Regions from separate parts of the Homo sapiens genome. Here all the other regions are linked to region 1. Evidence: promoter capture Hi-C in human tissues and cell types (Jung and others, 2019). All regions are on one chromosome and are shown on one strand. Each heading gives the region's core, a stretch centred on a gene start or on the middle of the fragment in contact. The rest is flanking DNA. Distances are from core to core; before and after follow the strand shown.

Region 1 (4,680 bases), core at 1,847-4,346:
AATCCCTGTAAAGCAACCTTCCAGTGCCCCTATCCTGTATCTAGACCCACAAATCCTGCCTTATGACAGGTTTTCTTCTAATAATCTATTAAAAATGGCCCCATTCTGGGCTGAGCATGGTGGCTTACGCCTGCAATCCTAGCACTTTGGGAGGCCAAGGCAGGAGGATTGCTTGAGCCCAAGAGTTCAAGACCGGCTTGGGCAACATAGTGAGACTCTGTCTCTATAAAAAAAATTCTAAAATATTAGTTAGGCATACTATGCGCCTGTAGTGCCAGCTACTTGAGAGGCTGAGGTGAGAGGATCACTTGAGCCCAGAAGGTCGAGGCTGCAGTGAGGTGTGATTGTACCACTGCACTCCAGTCTGGGTGACAGAGTTTTTAAAAAAAAAAAAGCGGGGGGGGGGAGGGCATCTGGTTCTCATAATTATTAAATAAATTATCTTCACTCTTACCTTTGATTCCGGATTTGGACCTTAATTCTTTTTATTTTTTTGAGACGGAGTCTCTCACTGTCACCTCGGCCGGAGTGCAGTGGCGCGATCTCAGCTCACTGCAACCTCCACCTCCCAGGTTCAACCAATTCTCCTGCCTCAGCCTCCCAAGTAGCTGGGATTACAGGCACCCGCCACTACACCCAGCTAATTTTTTGTATTTTTAGTAGAGACGGGGTTTCACTATATTGGCCAGGTTGGTCTCGAACGCCTGACCTCATGATCCACCTGCCTCGGCCTCCCAAAGTGATGGTATTACAGGCGTAAGCCACCGCGCCCGGCCCGGACCTTAATTCTTAAGTCATAGAAATGGTTTAAGGAGACCAAGTGTGGTAGCTCATGCCTGTAATCCCAGCACTTTGGGAGGCCAAGGCGGGCAGATCACCTGAGGTCAGGAGTTTGAGACCATCCTGGCCAACATGGTGAAAACCTGTCTCTACTAAAAATACAAAAAAATTAGCTGGGCAGGGTGGCAGGCGCCTGTAATCCCAGCTACTTGGGAGGCTGAGGCAGGAGAATTGCTTGAACCTCGGAGGCGAAGGTTGCAGTGAGCTGAGATCACGCCATTGCACTCCAGCCTGGGCGACAAGAATGAAACTCCGTCTCAAAAAAAAAAAAAAAAGAAATGGTTTAGGGAGGAAAGTTCAGACTCAGGTGTTAAGCTTTATTATTTTCGTAAAAATGATACACATTCAGGGCCAGGCACAGTGGCTCACGCCTGTAATCCCAGCACTTTGGGAGGCCAAGGTGGGTAGATCATGAGGTCAGGAGACTGAGACCATCCTGGCTAACACGGTGAAACCCCGTCTCTACTAAAAATACAAAAAATTAGCCAGGCGTGGTGGCGGGCACCTGTAGTCCCAGCTACTCGGGAGGCTGAGGCAGGAGAATGGCGTGAACCTAGGAGGTGGAGTTTGCAGTGAGGTGAGACTGCGCCACTGCACTCCAGCCTGGGGGACAGAGCGAGACTTCGTCTCAAAAAAAAAAAAAAAAAAAAAAGAGATACACATTCATTCAGGGTGGTCAGACTCAAATAAGAAAATCATTACACAGAAGCAAGTAAAAGCTGAAATATGAATACTACGTCTAGAAACACATTATTATAAACAGCTTGACATAAATGGTATTATACCCTCCAAGCTTATACAGAGAGTATAAGGTGTTCTATGAGTCTGAACTTTCCTCCCTAAACCATTCTGAACCTCCTGAGAGAACTCATCCTTCCCTGCAGCAGGAGGACACTCCCACTCAGTATCTTGCTGAATAAAAAGAGTCCTTACAAAGGTCCTTGTTTTGGCCGGGTGTGGTGGCTCACACCTGTAATCCCAGCACTTTGGGATGCCGAGGCAGGCGGATCACCTGAGGTTGGGAGTTCCAGACCAGCCTAATCAACATGGAGAAACCCCATCTCTACTAAAAATACAAAATTAGCCGAGCGGGGTGGCGCATGCCTGTAATCCCAGCTACTCGGGAGGCTGAGGCAGGAGAATCACTTGAATCTAGGAGGAGGAGCTTGCGGTGAACAGAAATGGCGCCATTGCACTCTAGCCTGGGCAACAGGAGCAAAACGCCATCTCAAAAAAAAAAAAAAACAAAAAAACAAAAAGTCCTTGTTTTTATTCTACCAGCAACAAAACAAATAAGCATCTCTGATGGTTCTAAACCTCTGTCCCAAATCTAAAATCAAAATATATTATTCTCAAAAGAGCAGACCAGGAACCCTGAAGTCCAGCTGTGAGCAGAACAGACAGCTAGCACTCACCTGAATTGGGATCATAGTAGCAGAGCAGAGTGAAACATTTCTTTTTGAGCTGCTCCTCTACTTCTTGCTGTAGCCGAGCCCTCATCCACACAAAATCCTACAGTCATAGAAGTAAAGGCAGAAATGCGAATAGACTGTAAAAACTAGGACGTCTCAGCCAATGAATACATGATGATAACCTCAATAATAGCCAAAGAAAATGCATCAAGAGACATCAGAGAGACTCATTTTTCACCTATCAAATTAGCGAAGAATAAAATGACTGTCAAGACCCCATGTTGGTGAGAACATGGGGGATCCAGGAGCCCTGAAAATACCTTTCTGGATAGCAGTTTGGCATTAGGTACCAATATTCTGTATGAGTATGCACTGACTCAGGAATCCCACTTTTAGCACCAGCATTACAGAAATAATCATACAAAGGTAAAGACACATATGAACCAGCATGTTCATCTCCCTGTGGTTTCTAACAGCAAAAATGTGGAAACAACCTTAATATCCACCAATAAGGTTAAGCAAATTATTCTACATCCATATAATAGAATCCTAGCAGAGATTTAAACTGATGACATAACACTAAGCACTATGTGCCTAGATACTTTGCTAACAGTGCTATAGAAGCTATCATCTTATTTACATTTATGTATTGACTTGAAAAGAAATCCAAAATATATTACATGAAAATAGACTGTACTTTTCTTTTTTTGAGACAGGGTCTCACTCTGTGCCCAGGCTGGAGTACAGTGGCATGATCACAGCTCACTACAGCCTTGACCTCCCACCCTCAAGTCATCCTCCTGCCTCTGTCTCCCGAGTAGCTGGGACTACAGGTGTGCACCACCAAACCTGGCTTTTGTTTTGTTTTTTTTTTGGTAGAGACGAGGTCTCACTATGTTGCCCAGGCTGGTCTTGAACTCCTGAACTCAAGTGATCCTCCCACCTCAGCCTCCCAAAGTGCTACGATTATAGGCGGAAGTCACTACACTCGGCCTTATACTCTCTATATAAGCATGAAGGGTATAATACCATTTATGTCAAGCTGTTTATAATAATATTGTGCTTCTAGATGCAGTATTTCAGCTTTTACTTGCTCCTGTGTAACGTTTTTCTTATTTGAGTCTGACCACCCTGAATGTGTATCATTTTTACAAAAACAATAAAGCTTGACAAAAAAAACATTTTAAAGATATGGGAGAAATTAAACCATTTCATTTATTTGGTTCCAATATCTCCCCGCCAACCTCTGAGAGTGGCATGAGTTCCAGAAGGTCCGCTTTCTCCAGCCCCAGCAGTGGAGGTATCTCCCTCTCCTGGCTAGGACCTAAGAGCCGCATCAGTTCAGTTACAAGCAGCCGCTGTTCAAGGGTCTCATGAAACTGAGAGAGAGAGAATAAAAAACAAAAAGAGGCAACTATAAAACTTCTCCCACTCCACCTCTTCCATCCTTATGAACCAGTTTTTCACATATTTTCAAAGTCCTCAAATATATCATCCCCCCTCAGATAACTCAGCTGCGAGTGACTTCTGTCAATGTTTCTATTACAAACTCTGATAACACATCCACTCCTTCCCCATAACTACAGTCCATTTCTCTTTTGACAAACCATTTCTCAAAGCTCCTACTTCCCCTAGATCACATCATCAGACAAAGCCACAGTTGGCCTGGTCATTCCTGTAACTGGTAACCAACCCCACCTCATTTCTTTCACCTCACTTTTTTTTGAGACTGAGTTTCGCTCTGTCACCCAGGCTGGAGTGCTGTGGCGCAATCTCGGCTCACTGCAATCTCCGCCTCCCAGGTTCAAGCGATTCTGCTGCCTCAGCCTCCCGAGTAGCTGGGATTACAGGCGTGTGCCACTGCACCTGGTTAATTTTTGTATTTTTAGTAGAGACGGGGTCTTACCATGTTGGCCAGGCTGGTCTCAAACTCTTGACCTCAAGTGATCAGCCTGCCTGGGGCTCCCAAAGTGCTGGGATTACAGGTGTTAGCCACCACGCCCAGCCTTTGCCTCACCTTTTTGTCCTCAGAAGTTACATTTGTGTCTTGTATCTTCACATAGTAGTCCACAAGCAACTCTTGAATGACTCTGTGTAAAATCTCAGACCTCAACCATGTTGTCTTATGCAGTCGAACTTCCTTCCATGCCTAGAAATCCAAAAAATCTCAGGTAGGAACCTCTCTCTCAGGATTTTCCCTTCTTCTTATCTCTTCTCCCAAAGCCCTTACCTGAGCCTGCTCCTTTGCTAGGGTGAGGCTTAAGCCACTCTCATCCACATGCTGTGAGAGATTCAGGAGAAGCTTGCTGAAGTATGGGTTCTGTAACAGGTCCTCTTTACTCAGGTTACAAGGAGGAAGTTGTTTGCTGCACACTTAACATCATGTCCCCACAGGTACAAAAAAACAAAAAAGGTGTGGACTCTTACT
Region 2 (4,670 bases), core at 518-3,017, 310 kb before region 1:
GCCTTGACCTCCCAAAGTGCTGGGATTACAGGGACAAGCCACCATGCCTGGCAGATTTAAGGATATTTTAATGATCCCTCCTCCATTCCCTGGAAACTATTTTTCTACTTTCTGACTATGGATTTGCCTATTCTGGACATTTCATATAAATGAATCATACCATATGTGGTCCTTTGTATCTAGCTTCTTTCACTTACTATAATATTTTCTTTATTTTTATTTTTAAATTTTTTTTAGAGACAGGGTCCTGCTCTGTCAGTGAGGCTGTAGTGCAGTGGCATGAAGATAGCTCACTGCAGCCCCAAACTCCTGGGCTCAAGTGATCCTCCTGCCTCAGCCTCCCAAGTAGCTAGGACTACAGGTGCACACCATCACACCTGGATAATTTTTTTTTTTTTTTGAGATGGAGTTTTACTCTTGTCACCCAGGCTGGAGTGCAATGGTGCAATCTCTGGTCACTGCAACCTCCGCCTCCCCGGTTCAAGCGATTCTCCAGCCTCAGCCTCCCAAGTAGCTGGGATTACAGGCGTCTGCCACCACGCCCAGCAGATTTTTGTATTTTTAGTAGAGACAGGGTTTCCCCATGTTGGCCAGGCTGGTCTCGAACTCCTGACTTCAAGTGATCCATCCACCTCGGCCTCCCAAAGTGCTGGGATTACAGGCGTGAGCCACCGTGCCTAGCCTAATTTTTTTTTTAATTAGAAAATAATTTTACTTTTTTTATTTTTTGAGACAGGGTCTCACTCTGTCACCCAGGCTGGAGTGCAGTGGTGCAATCATAACTCACTACATCCTCGACCTCCCAGGCTCAAGTGATCCTCCCACCTCAGACTCCCAAGTAACTGGGACTACAGGCACACACCACCATGCCCGGCCAATTTTTGTATTTTTTGTAGTGATAGGGGTTTTGCCATATTGCCCAGGCTGGTCTCGAACTCCTGGGCTCAAGCGATCTTCCTGTCTTAGCATCCCAAAGTGCTGAGATTACAGGTGCAGGCCACTTACTATAATATTTGTAAAGGTTCATCTATGTTATAGCATGGATCATTGCCAAGGATCTTAAAGAACCAATGTAGCAGGAGAAAAGGCCACAGCCCCAAGAAGAAGCCCTGACCCCTGGCATGGCAGAAACACACACACACACACACACACACACACACACACACACACACACACACACAGAGAGAGAGAGAGAGAGAGAGAGAGAGAGAGAGACAGCAGTTACTAAATGTAGATATATGCACAGTCTGTAAAATCTAGAAGAATAGTATGGAGGATGAATTTGGACTTGGTCACCAAATCTGGAAATGGTAGGATGAGGGATCAAGACTTAATTCATTTAACTCTCAAAATACATCTTTGCATAAGGTGCAACTGCACCCACTGGAAAATCATTTCCTCACATCAGAAATATTAAGAAGCTTAATGAAGGCAAAGATACACACCTGAGATTATAACAGGAACAGCTGCTCCCAGCCAGCCCCCAAATGCCAAACGATTGGTCTGCACTCACCTCGGCTAGGGTTGCCTTATGCCACCTCCACGGCTCAGTCTGTTCACCTGGGATTTGCTGCCACCTAGGATCTTCCACGGTAATTATCTTGACCAAAAAGCCACAGTGCATTCCACATGAGAGCAGCAGTGTTTGACAGGTGAAATGAGCCCTTCCCAACTCATGTGGATTGTTGCCTTAGCTGTGACCTCTTGTCCGACGAGCATGCACTTGTGTTGTAGACAGCTGGAAGGTACATGTTGGATTTTTACACTGCTGAGGAAGTTACAAGGTATGACATCCATTCCAGCATAGAGAGGTCTACAAATCCTCTTGCCCTAATCCTGAGTGTGTGAGGAAATCACCTTCGGTTAAGCATTGACCAGCTGCACCTCCCACACTGTCTACACAATCTGATCCAGTTGGGGAGAGAAAAGGGGCACTCTCCACTAAGCTCCTGGATGGTGCTTTATTCTCCTCTCCTGCTACCATCTTTCCTGCACCCTCTCCAGTCTTCTGCTCAGCCCAGTCTTCTGGGTGCTTCTTGATTCCAGAGAAAATGGGAAAAGAAACACTGTGTTACCTGATGGACAACAGCCATCAACCTGCTTCTTCCTCTGTCCCCTCAACCCAACGTGCACTACCACCACCACCATCCCCATCATATTTTTTTCAGAGACTGGCAGGCCAAGCGTCCCAAGGACTAAACTTCCTCTAGGGTTACTGCAGGATAGTCAAATCCTGTTGAGGGGTAGCTGGTGCATGAGAAAACTCTGGACTTGAAGCCAAGAGTCTGGGTTCAAGTCCCACCTGTGCCTTTTACCATTCTTGAGACTGGAAAAATTGCCTCCATTTTCATACTATCTGCAAATGAATCCTCATGTGACAAACAGCGGTAATGCTCTTTTCCTCCTCTTCCTCATGAGGTTGAGAAGCACAAAACGGAAAATAAGATAACTCATATGATAATCGATCATTGCCAAGGATCGTGAAGAACAAATGTATGATAATTCATATGATGTGTGAAATCATAAAACACCATATTGCTTTATTTTCTAGAACCCCTCCTATTCTGCAATACTGGAAAAGAACAAACCTTATCTTCCTTGTCCCTACTGAGATATTGATCATCCCACCCTAGAGGGAAGAATACTGTCCCTTCTGGCTCTGGAATACATCTCATCAGGCCCATGCTTCTGCCTTAATCAACTATTCTCCCCTTGGACAGCATATCTGGTTGGCTACAAAGTGTGAAGACAAAGGGAAGATGCTTCTCTACATGGGAATTTCGGTTGCCCAGGATTCCTGGAAATGAAGAAACTACTTCCTGTCCTCCACCATCTGCACTCTACAGAGGAGTCAGTAAGCTGGAAGGGATTCAGCGGGAGGACTCAGAAATACTCACATTTGCCTAAATAAGGTAGAGGGGGCTGGCCCCCAGCATATCCTGCCCACACAGCTGCCCCAGGCTTCCGTGCTGGGCGCTGAGGCTTGCGTTGCTGCAAACAGACTCTGCACTGTCAGGGCTGAAGGGGGCATACTCTAGAAGGGTCCCATGTTTGGACCCCACTTGGGAGGGTTGGGGTGGGATTGGCTCAGGTGAGAGCATGCACTTTCTGAGAAACCTCCAAACATGGGGCACTCCTCAGGGGCACATTACGAAGCTGTCCCTGAACACCAAGCCTGAGTCTGATGCCCCTGAGGCCCACTTAGGAAAGGATGCAAACCTAAACATCTACACTAACAAGAACTGGGAACAGAACACTAGCCAAGATCAACACCCCCAGGCCTATCTCAGAGAGCCTCACAGCATACAGTCCTCCATCCACCCCCTCTCCAGCCCCACTGTGACAGTTCCATCCATCCCTACCACTCCATTTACCCAGGACCCTCCTCTTCAACATCCTAATACACTGTGATCAATATGCCAAAGCTTCAGTAACCTTGCACTATGTGAAACAAAAGGTCCCACACTGCATAGCCTGGCACTCAAGACCCCCTAATCCCAGTCTCCCTTGAATTACCGCCCAGACTCAGCTCCTGTCTTACACATCACCTTGCGCATCTTTTACTTCGGTTGAGCCACTCTATTCACTGTGCCCCACGCTGGCCCTCACTTTCTTACTGCACACTCGGGCCCCAAGTGTCCTACCATTGGGACCATCTTCTCCACCGCCTAGTCTCTAGGCCCTACTCTTGTCCCTTTTCCTAGCCTAAGCTAGGTTCTCCCTCTTTAGATATCCTTTTCTTGCACTTGGAATCAGGAATCCACAGTGTAGAACTGGAGTGTTTTTAACCTTTTTTAATTTAAATATAACACATGTACAGAAAAGTATACAAATCATAAGCTCAATGAATTATCAATAAAGTGAACACATTCATGTAACCACCACCCTGGTGAAGAAACAGAATGGTACTAGCACCCCAGAAATCCTTCTCAAGCTCCCTCCCCACATCCCAGCTGTAACCATTATCTTGATTTCTAACACCATGGATTAGTTTTGCCTGTTTTGGAAATTCATATAAATGAAATCATCTAATAGGTCTTGTTTTGTGTCTGACATCTTTTTCTCAACCTTATAGTTTTGAAATTCAATCATGTTGTGGTGTGTGACTCATTTTTATTGCCATATATTTCATCATTTCATTTGTGGTTATTTAGCCTCTGGGCAGATTTTTAAGTTCCTTGGGAACAGGGATTTTTTTCATAAAATTATTTTTGAATCCCCATAATGCCTAACTGGAAAAGCAAAAGTTGCTCAGTATATATGAATTTTAGTCCAAAAAGCTTCTAATTTCAATCTCACATCATATACCCCCATGAACAGGCAATAGTATCTAACAATTTCAGCAATTTCTTTTTCTCACATCTCATACCCAATTCATTAGCAAATCCCACTGGCTCTACCTTTATATATATGTCAAATCCAACCACTTATCACCATCCCCATTACCCTAGTTCAAGTCACAAACATTGTAGAAGAATAGATAATGAAGTAAAAAGAGTGTTGCAAAATAGTATAAATGACATCATCCTTTTTTTTTTTTTTTTTGAGACAGAGTTTAATTCTTGTTGCCCAGGCTGGAGTGCAATGGCATGATCACGGCTCACCGCAGGCTCTGCCACCTGGGTTCAAGTGATTCTTCTGCCTCAGCCTCCCGAGTAGTGGAATTACGG
Region 3 (4,359 bases), core at 1,014-3,513, 420 kb after region 1:
TCAGGTCAGTCCTGGTCATCATGGGGGTGGGAAAAGCCAACCCTTCCTGGAGGGTTTCTCCCTCTGTCCTAGAGGGACACCCCAAAGGACTCTTCTGAAGGGCAACGTTCCTGGTGACCTAGGCTGGGTCCTCCCTGCAGCGTCAGCAAGTGAAACAGGTAGTTGGGATCACTTCTGGCTCCTTTGAACACCCCCTCCTGGGCAAGGGTCAAGATAGGAGATCTGAGCCAACTCCATTTCTACTACCTTCTTAGCCCTGAGGTTCTGATTGGTGAGAGCGAGACCCATAGGTATCCAGCTCTTCTGAAACGGCACTGCCTCCTAAGATCCTGTTCTGGGATTGAGGTTTTCCCAGGAGCACGGGAAGCCACCTTGAGGCCATGTCTGCCAGACAAAAGGCTAGGAAAGGGAGCTAGTGCAGTGAATCCGAACAGCAGGGCTGGATACCTAAGTGGGCAGACACACCCTGTGGCCCTCAGCAGGTGCAGTTGAAACTTGTCCCAACCCAAGCCCAGGTGAGCAGGAAAGCATTCACTGTGGGGCTCCCCTTCCATTCACAGCCAACTAGGGGTAGGCACGGTGTGGCACTTCCATGCCAGGAGGTTACATGTGGAATTGGTCAGAGCTGGAATGGGAAACCAGCTCAGCCTCTTTCTTTGTGATCTTGGGTAAGTTACTAAATTTCCTTGGGCCTCAGTTTCCTCATCTGTAACATGGGGATAATAGTTTCCATGTCATGGTTTCATTGTCGGGATAAAATGAGATGATGCATGCCCAGGGCTTAGCACCATGCCTGGCACATGTAAGTGCACAGGAGCTGAGGCCAGCAGGATATGGAAGGGAGAGGACGTCTGCGAGTACTGGGGGCAGAGGGTGAGGCAGTGAGAGTGGGGCCATGATACTGGCCTCATCACTGTTCCTGAGTGCCCCTGCTTTCCCAGCCACCACCTGCTTCTTCTAAGTGCCCTCCATCCCACAGTTCCAGGTGCCCCAAGACTCATCAGAGCAGAGCAGTTTCTCCCAATTTTCCAGATTGCCCTTTGACTTCATCACTTCTCTCTTTTGGGGCTGCTTTGCCCTAACGCATTGGAAAGATTCCTCTCACTGCAGTTTAAGTTATTCCTGGTTCCCTTTGTTGATTTCCTAGTCCTTGGTTACTAGAGGAGTATTTTCTAAGGGAAAGCACATGCAAATCAAGCCACATCATTCTAGGGGCAATGTCTGTGTATGGGTATGTTGGGTGCGTATGGGGGATGAGGCAGGCCAATAGGCAAGCATGAAGAGAAGGACCTGGGGGGAAGGACACACTGGCCCACTCTCAGCACAGTGTCTCCCAAGCAGGCTGGACCCGGCTGACCTGTGTCTTTGGGGTCAAGCCCAACTGTAAGCCTTTCTGGGGCACACATACACCCTCCTGGCTAACAGTGGCCCATGTTTCTGGACCTGCTGAGGCTGAGTGGGCTCACTTCATGGCCTGAAAGCAGTAGCTGACCCTGTCATGGGCTTGGTCCCCAAGGCTCTGTGAATGAGAGCAGGTTGGTTCCTGGAACTGAGACCTCCTTCCTGTTGGGTCTTAGGTGAGGCTGTTTCAGTTTCCCTCCTCTTCCTTGCTTCACCTTCTCATTTGTGCAATGGGGACACTCACCCACAGCTTCTTCCATCAGACCTTGCCCATCCAGCCAACAAACTTAGGAAGTCAGGGTCTTCCAGCAGCCCTGTGAGGGTAGGCTTGTATCCCCGGTGGGGGGCAGTGACTGGCGAGGGCAAGGGGGAGTTAGGGAGTGGGTCATGGACAATGGGGGAGAAGTCATAGCTGATGGGGGTCATAGAATTTTGGGGTCATTGAAAATGTGGAAGAGGTCAGAGAACAAAGGGGATGGGAGTCAAAGGATGTCTAAGGGAAAGGAAATAATCACGAAGGTGGATGATCAGAGGGACACCTGGGAAGAGGGGAATGGTGAAACCAGACCCTGGATGGGGGGAGCAGGGATCATGGAAACGAGGCCTCTTGAAGGGAGGCCACAAGACATTTCCTAATTTTGGCTACCAAACCAACCAGGGAAATCCCGCTAATGCCAGTTCACAAGAATGCAGAACAGCAGACTGTTATTGCTTTGACCCCATGGCCAGAAAAATTCAAAGAGCAAAGTTTACCCAATCAGCTACCAGGCATATAATGATGGTCATCACAACTTCCATGAGTATTGCATTTTAAGCAGCCTTTGGAAATACTTTCAGAGTTTTTTTGGTTTTGTTTTTTAACCTCAAGTCACTCCCTAAAAAGACAGTGGAAATAAATTTGAATAAACAAAACAGGCTTGCTGAAAATAAAATCAGGACTCCTAACCTGCTCCAGTCAGCCTGCTTCCACGAGGCCTGTCAGTCAGTGCCCCACTTGTGACTGAGTGTGCAGTGCCCAGCATGTACCAGGTCAGTGCAGAGGGCTGCCTGAGGGCTGTGCTGAGAGGGAGAGGAGCAGAGATGCTGCTGAGGGTGGAGGGAGGCCAAGCTGCCAGGTTTGGGGCTGGGGGCCAAGTGGAGTGAGAAACTGGGATCCCAGGGGGAGGGTGCAGATGAGGGAGCGACCCAGATTAGGTGAGGACAGTTCTCTCATTAGCCTTTTCCTACAGGTGGTTGCATTCTTGGCAATGGTCATGGGAACCCACACCTACAGCCACTGGCCCAGCTGCTGCCCCAGCAAAGGGCAGGACACCTCTGAGGAGCTGCTGAGGTGGAGCACTGTGCCTGTGCCTCCCCTAGAGCCTGCTAGGCCCAACCGCCACCCAGAGTCCTGTAGGGCCAGTGAAGATGGACCCCTCAACAGCAGGGCCATCTCCCCCTGGAGATATGAGTGAGTCTGCTGCCCCTCCCGAATGCCTGCCCTGTGTGTGCTGGCCAGGGTATGCGTGAGGGACCAGGGCAATTCCAGCTTACTTTCCCATTTTGATCTCAGAGGGGCTGTAAAGGTTTGGGAGTTAGACAAGGTCTGTATTTGAGTCCTAGCTCTGACTCTCATTGGATGATCTTGAGTCAATTCAAGTTTTCAAAACTCAGGGTTTTTTTTTTTTTCACCTGCAAAATGATATAATGCCCCATAGGCTAATGTGCAGATCAAATGAAATATAATGTATGTAAAAGTCTGTATTTATGTTGGTTCTCTCCTTTTCTTTTAAAACATCCCTATAATGGCCCATGTTTTTTCTGGGTAAAATATTAGGGAATAATGGCATGATACAGGCATGAAGCATCCCAATACCAATTGATACTGCCCTGGCCATGAATGGGTTAGTTATAAGCATACTAAAGGAGTGAAACCCTTAACTTTTGGGGGCAGCTGGCTGGCTGGAGCTGTGGACTGGATATCTTTGATCATGATCATGGGTACTGTATTCTTTCACTCAGTGTGCCACATAAATATTATAGTTCTCTATTTGTGCCATGATATGAAAAATATTAGGAAGTGCTGAAATATGAATGATGAAGCAAAATATTAAAAACTAGGGTCTTAGGGATTCCAGACATGTGATTTCACTTCTTCCTTCTAGTTCTGTCTTAGCATTGGCTTTGGGGGTAGATGGAGAAGTTCAGTGGTGGGGAGGGGGTCAGATCTAACTGAGATTGGATCTAGTGTGGACACTACAGGTCATGACTCTTTGGAGTGGTCTCAGAAGCTGGCTGGGTCCTGGGCCAAATCAGATGGCATGGGAGCTTCTTAGGGGAGGCGGGTGCCAGAGGTTAACTCAGCTGTCTTCCAGACCCCTTGCTGGGAGTCTGTGAACCCGAGAACCACTCAGGTGGCTTTCCCCAAAGTGTGTTCTGTGCAATGCTCATCCCATGAGCTGCTTCTCAGAAAAAAGTGATGCCAGGTAAACTTGGGAAAGACTGCTGTATCTCCTACCCCTTGGAGATTCATACTGTCATTGTACATTAAAGTCTGCAAGAAGTCTGTAGAAAGTAAACCGTTAAACTGGTGTTTCCCAAATTCATTTAAGCACCCAACAGGTGCAGGTGATTTATTAGGGAACCCACTTTGGGAAGTGATGTGCTAGCTAATTCCATTTGCCAGGGCTTGTCTGTGTGGGGAATGGTCCCACAAGCTGGAGACTGTCGCCTGCCAGACTAATGGAGTCGCAGACCTGTGGGACATCTACTTTTCAGTGTTTTTCATCTTTCTTTCTTTCTTTCTTTTTTTTTTTTTGCCATGAAATCCTTTCAGAATAAGTAAATAAGTCTTCCCATGCACTCTCAAGTATGCTTATAATATAAGCTTGCACAGCGTCTGGAAGAATGTGCAGGAAATAGTTGAGGATAGCTTCTTCTGGGGAGTGGGGCTGGTAGGGAGAGACTATTAACTTTCAC

The links. The method cuts DNA at HindIII sites, captures the fragments that hold promoters and counts their contacts. A contact is called where the count stands out against the background at its distance.
Region 2: the fragment with the promoter of OR6J1 here is called in contact with a fragment that was not itself captured in region 1 in 1 of the 25 tissues and cell types used here (spleen).
Region 3: a contact is called between the fragment with the promoter of IL25 here and a fragment that was not itself captured in region 1, in 1 of the 25 tissues and cell types used here (lymphoblastoid cells).

What each region holds. Positions count from the first base shown.
Region 1 is chr14:22,948,059-22,952,738 of GRCh38, forward strand. HAUS4 (HAUS augmin like complex subunit 4) reads right to left here. Exons shown (of 10, transcript NM_001166269.2): 3 at 4,483-4,625; 4 at 4,270-4,401; 5 at 3,497-3,631; 6 at 2,256-2,352. The region is part of intron 2 of PRMT5-DT (PRMT5 divergent transcript); the gene reads left to right. Among named protein-coding and RNA genes, the nearest start is that of MIR4707, 6.6 kb to the right of the region's middle. The HindIII fragment of the contact is 5,650 bases long and covers 272-4,680 here.
Region 2 is chr14:22,642,585-22,647,254 of GRCh38, forward strand. It overlaps OR6J1 (olfactory receptor family 6 subfamily J member 1), which reads right to left and starts at 1,768. Exons shown (of 2, transcript NM_001348233.2): 1 at 1,514-1,768. The HindIII fragment of the contact is 14,040 bases long and covers 1-2,423 here.
Region 3 is chr14:23,370,546-23,374,904 of GRCh38, forward strand. IL25 (interleukin 25) reads left to right here and starts at 2,264. Exons shown (of 3, transcript NM_172314.2): 1 at 2,264-2,430; 2 at 2,631-2,851. The coding sequence starts at 2,422. The HindIII fragment of the contact is 4,168 bases long and covers 1,512-4,359 here.